Regions from separate parts of the Homo sapiens genome. Here region 1 is linked to region 2. The links are contacts of gene promoters, found by promoter capture Hi-C in blood cells and fetal thymus (Javierre and others, 2016). All regions are on one chromosome and are shown on one strand. The core of a region is centred on a gene start or on the middle of the fragment in contact, and the rest is flanking DNA. Distances in the headings are between cores, read along the strand shown. Region 1 holds the start of ATOSB (atos homolog B). Region 2 holds the start of ZCCHC7 (zinc finger CCHC-type containing 7).

Region 1 (3,782 bases), core at 266-2,765, 2.0 Mb after region 2:
GAGGCGGGCGGATCGCTTGAGGTCAGGAATTTGAGACCAGCCTGGCCAACATGGTGAAACCTGTCTCTACCAAAAATACGAAAATTAGCCCGGCCTGGTGGCGCGCGCTTGTAATCCCAGCTACTCTGAAGGCTGAGGCAGGAGAATTGCTTGAACCCAGTAGGCGGAGGTTGCAGTGAGCCGAGATCGCACCACTGCACTCCAGTTTGGGCGAAAGAGCGAGACGCCGTCTCAAAAAAAAATAAAAAAGAATGTGACTTTTGTAGAACTTGATCAAATCCAGACCCAAACGGTCCGCTCCTCGGAGAGGCCACAGATCGGCGCTGAGCTGGGCTGTCTCAGTTCTGCAAGTGTCCTGTGCTGCCATCTACCGGTGTCTGGGAAGCGTCGCCCTCCCTTATTGTATCTCCTGGGGAGAGGTTGGAGAGGGCGCCGCTTAAACTGCAGAACATATGTAACTGTCATGCAGTTCATTAGACACCTGTACAAGGGAAAGGCCTCACTTTTCTCCAGCAATTGCAGGCCCTCCTAACTCCATATCAACACTCATCTCGTAAAATTCACAGATCTCGCTGACCTGCCTCAGTAGGTACTGATCTGACTCCTACTGTCCATCCCATCCCAGAACCCACACCCGCCTGCACAGCGTAGGCTTCAGAAACTGCTCAACCTCGCAGACCTGAACCCCACCGCCCAGATTCCCTCATTTTCACAGACCCCTGAGATTCCTTGCACTACCTTGCAATCCCTACGGACCTCCCCTATTAGTGCAAATGCACGCGCCCACCCAGACATCCCTACAAAGAGGTTAGAGTTCCGGCGGCAGCTCACACCGGTGCGAAAGCAGCGAGATAGCCCCAACCCGGCTCAGAGCCCTCAGGCTGGTGGCTTTGGCCCTGGCTCCATCTCCCCACCTCTGCCCTGATCCGCTCCGCTCAGGCTAGCAGCCTGCCGGCCGAGGCCCCGCCCCTCTAGACTTGTCATCACAGAAGCCGCACGTGGCCGGGGTGGGACCTCAGGCGACCTGCGACCATCACTTTGTCTCCTCCTTCCTCCTTTGGGGCCGCCACCGCCAATCAGAGCCAGCGGATCCTGGTTGGAGTGCGACCGCCCGGGTGAGGCGTGAGGGAGAAGGGGCGGAAGGAGGAGGGGCTCTGAGATGGGAGGGGGATCGTGGTGGAAGGGTCTTGGCGCGACTTCTGCCAGGCTGGAATCCGAGGGGGCGGGTCCTGGTGAAAGGCGGAGAGACCGAGAGGAGGCGGGGATCGGGGGTGGGGCCTGGGAAAAGCTGAGGATCCTGGGGAAATGCAAAGAAAACGCGAAGGAGGTGCGAGGTCAGAAGGGGGCGGGGCCCGGGCTACAGGGGAGGAGCTCGAGAAATTAAACGAGGAAAGGGACAAGTCCACAGAAGGTGGAAGGTGGGACAAGGGAGAGGGTGGGCCCGGGCGTTGCGGGGGCGGGGCTCAGACTGAAGGGGCGAGGTTTGCAGGCGGAGGCTACAGCTAGGGCTGCTCAGTAACTGCCCCAACCACTACCACGTCCCCAAGTGCAACGGGACCCACGGAACTACAGGTGTGGGGCAGGGTGAGCGTGGAAGAAGGGACGCGGATGGGGGTGCGCTTTGCAGACGATCTGGAGACTGCTGTGTGTTGAGGGAAGATACGAAGTCGCGGGAGCAGTTGGGGACTCAATGTGTGGGCAACAAGGTGCATTCTCCAGAGGCCTCTATGGGGGAAGGGCGGGAGCGCTTTGTTGTGGGGGGGTTGCGAGGTACATTGTGAGGGGGCTGTCTCTGTCTGATGTGGGGGGTTGGAGGAGGTACATGAGGGGCAGGGGACATGGAGGTGCTTTGAAGGAAGGGGGGCTGTTTAATGGAGAAGGAGTGTAGCGGTGTCGGAGGGTCTGCGGGCACTATCTAGGGGAAGGGGTTGTAGGCCCAACTTGAGGCAGGAGAACAGAACCCCCAGTACTTTGACAAAGTAACAGTTTAGGGCATTGTAGTAACTACAGGAAGACACTTGTGTTCTGGGTTCTAAGAGCAAGGGTGTTGGGGTTAGTGGGGTGAAGAGGCCAATCTATTGCACTCCTGTCTGCTCAGCTTTTAACTCCGCCTTCTGGCCTGGGCACTCAGAGAGGAGTCAGACCCTGCTTGTCACTAGGGCTTGTGTGAATGTCTCCTCAGTCTATTTTGGATCTGTCCAGCTGAGACTGGGGTTTCTTCCCTAAGCTGAGGTCCCGGGGGACCCTTCCCCCGCTGGGTTCCTGTCAACCCCCCATCCTAGTTCCTGTTCCTCCCAGAGCCGGCCTTGGTCTCTGTCTCCCCCCTCCCCCGCCCTGCCCTTATGCTCTGGGTGTGCTCATTTCCCACTTCCTTCCTTGCCCCAGGGCCTGGCCTGGCCCTTGCCCATCTAGGAGCTGTGCCCTGCCCGGTACTTTGTTATCAATGACCAGAGACCCTGGTAACCAGCGGCAGGGCTCAGACCCCACCCCCACCACTACCACCCAGGTCTCTCGCATAGATCCCCAAGTGACTGGTAGCCACATTTAACCACTTGCCACAAACAGATTTTCCCCACCCTTATCCTTCTGGGTAGGGAACGCTAGGGCTTCTGTGGGAGGGGGGAAGTGGTGAGGAGTATTGAGGGTCTTCTGTCTGTTTTGAGAGGTGGGCCACGACTGTAAGCTGAACCCAGTAAGGGTTGTGAGGTTCCAGCCACAGCTAGGGGAGGAAGAGGGAGTGGCTCCCCACACTCCAGGCTTGGAAGCACTATCAGAACAGGCTAGGACCTAGTTCTCTTGAGGGCTCCTCTGCTTCCCTGAGGGGATTTGATGGAGTGCTAGAGTTCTTTTTGCCCCTGGGCTGGCTGGGAGAGGGTGGGAAAGGCTTGAGTTCCACACAGTGGCTAAATGAGTGTGACAGTGTTGCTAAAAGGGGCCCCAAGCCAGCCTCCTCACACAACCACCCAGGAGCTGAGAGACTGGCTGGGGAGGGGGGTGGGTCTGCTGAGGACAGACAAAGCCCTGGGGTAGGGTGGGGTAAAAAAGGGCAGGCTGAAGCCTTTTGAGGAGGAGCTGATTGCTATGGCAACACTGCTTCCCAGACAGTCTCTCAGAGAGGGCGGGCCTAGGGCAGACTCTCCAGCTTCCTCAGGACTGGGGCGGTTTGTGTGAGTGGGTGGGGCATGAAGAGAAAGGGCATCAGTTTGCTGTGCTGAGACTGGAGGATATAGCCTTTCTGCTTTGGTACAGGCAGCAGAGCATTCGAATGCCTGGAGCTATCCTCTGATATGGAGATGAGTGAACAACAGTCATTAGAATTGTAGAGCTGCAGAGGCCCTCAGCAGTCATTGTTTATACAAACACCTCATTTTACAGGTTTGGAAATTTATGGCTAAAGAGACTGTGATTCCCCAGATGTCACAGTGAAAGGGCAGAAGATAGGATCCAGATCGCCGGATTGCTGTTCACTCAGCCCAGGGCCTGTTGTTTTCTTCAGTCAATGTTTATTGAACATTGCCAGGGACTAATGTTGGCTCTGGGAATATGAGCATGAACGAAACAAAGTTGCTGCTCTCATGGAGCTTCCATTCTATTAAGGGGAGAAAGAAATTGTGGAGGGGGAGGGAGAAGTCAAGTAGTGATAACCGCTATATAAAAAAAAATAAAGCAGGATAAATTTAGGGCAGGAAGGTAAGGCCTCTTTATTTATTTATTTATTTATTTATTTATTTATTTATTTATTTATTTTTGAGACGGAGTCTCACTCACTCTGTCACCCAGGC
Region 2 (3,976 bases), core at 184-2,683:
AGTAAAATTTTTCTTACTCTTAGTAAGCTGCCCTGACAGGACAGTTGAAACACAATTGTCTAAAGGGTTAAAATGTCTGTCCATTTTTCAAATGCGATGGCCACTCTGAATCAAATCTGATTGGGATGGAGAATCCAAATGTGTAAAACAAAAGTCACAAAAGACAAACAGAGCACAGTATTTCAGTGGGGGAAAAAAAATAAGCTAAATTTAGTCACTTAAGTCCCAGCTCTTCTTGGGATATATATATGATTTTTACGAGAACTAATCCTATCCGGAAACATTTCCTTCACCTTTCCCTTAGCCCTTTTCCTTCGGTCATGCAGTCTCTTACCGTGCTAATTATCATATTAATATAATCCTCACTTGCGATCCTTCCTGACTTTATTCCCCATGCTCAGATTCTCCTGAAAGCATAACGCTTTCCTAAGTATACACACAATCCATTTAAAAGTCTTTGTATGCGACAGCCTAACTATTCAAACACGAAGTCATTTCTCTAACGGTCCTAGAAAAAATTTTAAAAAGAAAAAGAAAACCACAAAGTCAAGAGCTTCTGAGGGGACCTGAAAAGTCATCAAATTGAACGCTCTCGTTTTATAGTTGGAGAAAGGAGCTCAGAGAAACTTATTCACTGAGCTAAAAAGGCCCTACTAATGCAGCCCGTAATTCAACTGTGCAATCTGAAATAATCTTAAATTCAGCTTCAATAAGAGCTTTCTGGAATCGCCAGCGAATCCGTGGGGGAGCCACGGCTAGAACCCAGGCCTCCTGATTCCCAGCCACAGCTTTTCCACCGAACCAGCAGCTCTTCCCAAAAGTTGAAGGCAACTGTCCGCTCACAGGATGGGAGGGATAAAGGGCGCCTTAGTAAACACAGTCCAAGTCTACTCGTTTTACATGAGGAAAGGGTCACAGCTCCCGAAATTTTGGATTCTACTGCTGCAGCTGCTGCTTCTGACAGCAGAGGCGGGAGGTGGCCCAGGACTACTCGGTCCTCAAAGACTGGACTCTCTCTCGGCGCGCCGGGACCTCCGCGCTTCACTGACTGGCTTCCCTAGAAGACTGGGGGCCTTGCGGGGAAATAAAAAGGGCAGACACGCCACCCTCACCGAGGCCCTAGACGCCCAGCCGCTCTAGAATCACGGCATTAGCCCTTGGAAAGCCAGGGAGACGCGGACCCCCTAGACCCGCAGCCCGGCCGCGTGGGGCGGCGCGCAGGTGACGGACCAGGAGCTGCGCCCTGCCACGAGTGAGGGGCGGACGGGAGACGTCGAGGCCGGCGAGGGGGCACGCGCTAGTTCCACAGCCCGGCGGGCAAGAAGGAGGGTAGGCAGGGGTCCCGAGCCGCGGGCGGCGGGGGTCCGTCACACACATACTCACTGCCGCAGCTGCGAACAGGAAGCACCAACCGGGAACCAAAACGCGTAGAGGGACGGGGAGGGGCGAGGACAAATGAGGTAAGGAGGCCGCGTCCGCGCAGACCCGGGAGGGAAGGCACTTCCGGGGACAACACAGCTCTAGTCACCGCCTTTCCGTCCCCGCCCACCTGCCGCGCCTGATGTGCGCATGCGTAGTGGGTGCGAACCGTTCTCTGCCCCGCCCATAATTATTAGGTTTGCCTTCCTTGCTTTCCCCCTTCCCCTTCCCAACTTCTCTTGAAGCTACCTAGGCTGCATCTATTATTTGAATGACTCGTACGAAGGAGATGCTATTTACCGGGCAAAAGCCGGGGAGTTCGTGCCCTCTACCCCCGCGAGGAAAACTACAACCCCCATGAGGACACGGGCGAGGTTGAGGCCGGGCTCCGCCTCCTTCTCCCTGGCGCTCGGTGGACGCCTTCTCAGTGCCACGTGGCGCGGGAGCCTAGCTGATCGCGTGCATGACGAGGGCCAGCGTGGCTGGCTGCTTGGCCCGCAGACCTGGGCAGCGGGAAACGCGTACTTGAGAGCGCATGGCTTCAAGCTTCTCCCTTGCGCTCATGATCTTAGGCTGGTCGCTTTTTCTTTTAGGCGGAACACAGTTCACACTGGGCGCCTCCAACTCTCTGGAATTCTAGGCAACAGATTAACACTTTGTGAATCTCGAAGAGCTGCACTCCTGCTAAATATTGGAGTTAATGCTGATCCTTTGGAAGTCTCTGAAGGTTGCAAGATTGTGCTGGGAGCCTCTGGCTTCATTTGCCCTTCTCACACCTTATTTTAATACAAGGTAAACCCATCTGTAGAACTTTAGAAATAACTGTCGACCTAAAGGAAAAACTGAGGCAAAGTTAATATAAGTGGAGAATTTATTTGGGCCAAGTTTGATGAGGGCAACCTGGGATCATCAATTCAAGTTGCCCTTAATATGTGATCCGATAAGCAGCAGTTTCAACTGAGTTCTTTGTCTTGTGAAGCTCCAGGCTTAAAGGTATCGATCCTCCCACCTCTGTCTCCCAAAGCACTGGGATCACAGGCATGAGCCATTACACTTCTTGTAGCAGCTACGAGTGAATTTTTTTCTTTCTTTATGGTTTTTTTTTTTTTTTTTTTTTTTTTTTTCCTGAGACGGAGTTTCGCAGTTGTTGCCCAGGCTGGAGTGCAATGGCGCGGTCTCGGCTCACTGCAACCTCCGCCTCCCAGATTCAAGCCATCCTCCTGCCTCAGCCTCCGAAGTAGCTGGGATTACAGGCGCCTGCCACCACGCCCAGCTAATTTTTGTATTTTTAGTAGAGTCGGGGTTTCACCATGTTGGCCAGGCTGGTCTCGAACTCCTGGCCTCGACCTGCCAAAGTGCTGGGATTAGAGGCGTGAGCCACCGCGCCCGGCCACGAGTGAATTTTTAAAGGAAAAAAGAAGAGGCTTTTGCTAAACTACATACCAAGAATTGACACTAAAATAACATAAGCTATCCATTGGCTACACATTGTTCTTTCTATCACAAATTTTAGGAACACGAAGATAAAGGGTGATGCAGGTACTGGGAAGAAAAGAACAAAATGCCTTTAAACAATTGCCACACACCCCTACCCCCCACCCCCACCCCCACCACCACCTACATGGGATGGTGCTAACTGAAGTACCATACTCAAGTCCCTCTGGGCCTGATAAAGTTTGAATGCCTGCCTGGCTAATGGGGTAGCTCTCACCTGTTTGGGAGCCCGAAGTGGGAGGATAGCTTAAGGCCGAGAATTCGAAACCAGCCGGGGTAATATAGCAAGACGCTGTCTCTACAAAAAAATTTAAAAATTTAAAAATTAACTGGGCGACTGGGCGCAGTGGCTCACGCCTGTAATCCCAGCACTTTGGGAGGCCGAGGCGGGCGGATCACCTGAGGTCAGGAGTTGGAGACCAGCCTGACCAACATGGCGAAACCCCGTCTCTAGTAAAAATACAAAATTAGCCGGGCGTGATGGCGCATGCCTGTAATCCTAGCCACTCCTGAGGTTAAGGCAGGAGAATCGCTTTAACCCGGCAGGCGGAGGTTGCAGTGAGCCGAGATTGCGCCATTGCACTCCACCCTGGGCAGCAAGAGAGAAACTCCGTGTCAAAAAAATAATAATAATAACAGGGCGTGGTGGCCCACACCTGGAGTCCCAGCTGTTCCTGGCTGAGGTTTGAACTGCGGAGGTCTAGGCTGCAGTGAGCCGAGATCGCACCATTGCACTCCAGAATGAGACCGTCTGAACAAAAATGTTTAAAGCTCAAGCAAGGTGCCTCATGGCTGTAATCCCAGCACTTTGGGAGGTTGAGGCAGGTGGATCGCTTGAGCTCAGGAGTTGGAGACCAGCCTGGGCAACATAAGAAGACCCCATCTATATTTAAAATAAGATCCTTTTCTTAATTAAAAAATTATATAAAAATAAATTTAAAAAAACAAATCTTTTTATAAAAATAAAAATAAATAAGAAATTTTAAATAGTAAAAATTAGCCAGGCGTGGTGGCACACAACTGTATTCCTAGCTACTAAGGAGGCCAAGGTGAGAAGATTGCT

The links. Contacts are between HindIII fragments. The CHiCAGO score rates a contact against its expected background, and 5 or more counts as called.
Region 1: a contact is called between the fragment with the promoter of ATOSB here and the fragment with the promoter of ZCCHC7 in region 2, in 1 of 17 cell types (monocytes). The highest score is 5.2, in monocytes.

The regions. Positions count from the first base shown.
Region 1 is chr9:35,113,595-35,117,376 of GRCh38, reverse strand. It overlaps ATOSB (atos homolog B), which reads left to right and starts at 1,515. Exons shown (of 9, transcript NM_025182.4): 1 at 1,515-1,572. RefSeq lists a silencer at 1,311-1,370 and an enhancer at 2,704-3,533. The HindIII fragment of the contact is 12,182 bases long and covers 1-3,782 here.
Region 2 is chr9:37,118,031-37,122,006 of GRCh38, reverse strand. ZCCHC7 (zinc finger CCHC-type containing 7) reads right to left here and starts at 1,433. Exons shown (of 9, transcript NM_032226.3): 1 at 1,384-1,433. LOC105376034 (a long non-coding RNA gene) reads left to right here and starts at 1,607. Exons shown (of 3, transcript NR_188580.1): 1 at 1,607-2,211. RefSeq lists an enhancer at 1,692-1,771. The HindIII fragment of the contact is 2,192 bases long and covers 1-1,967 here.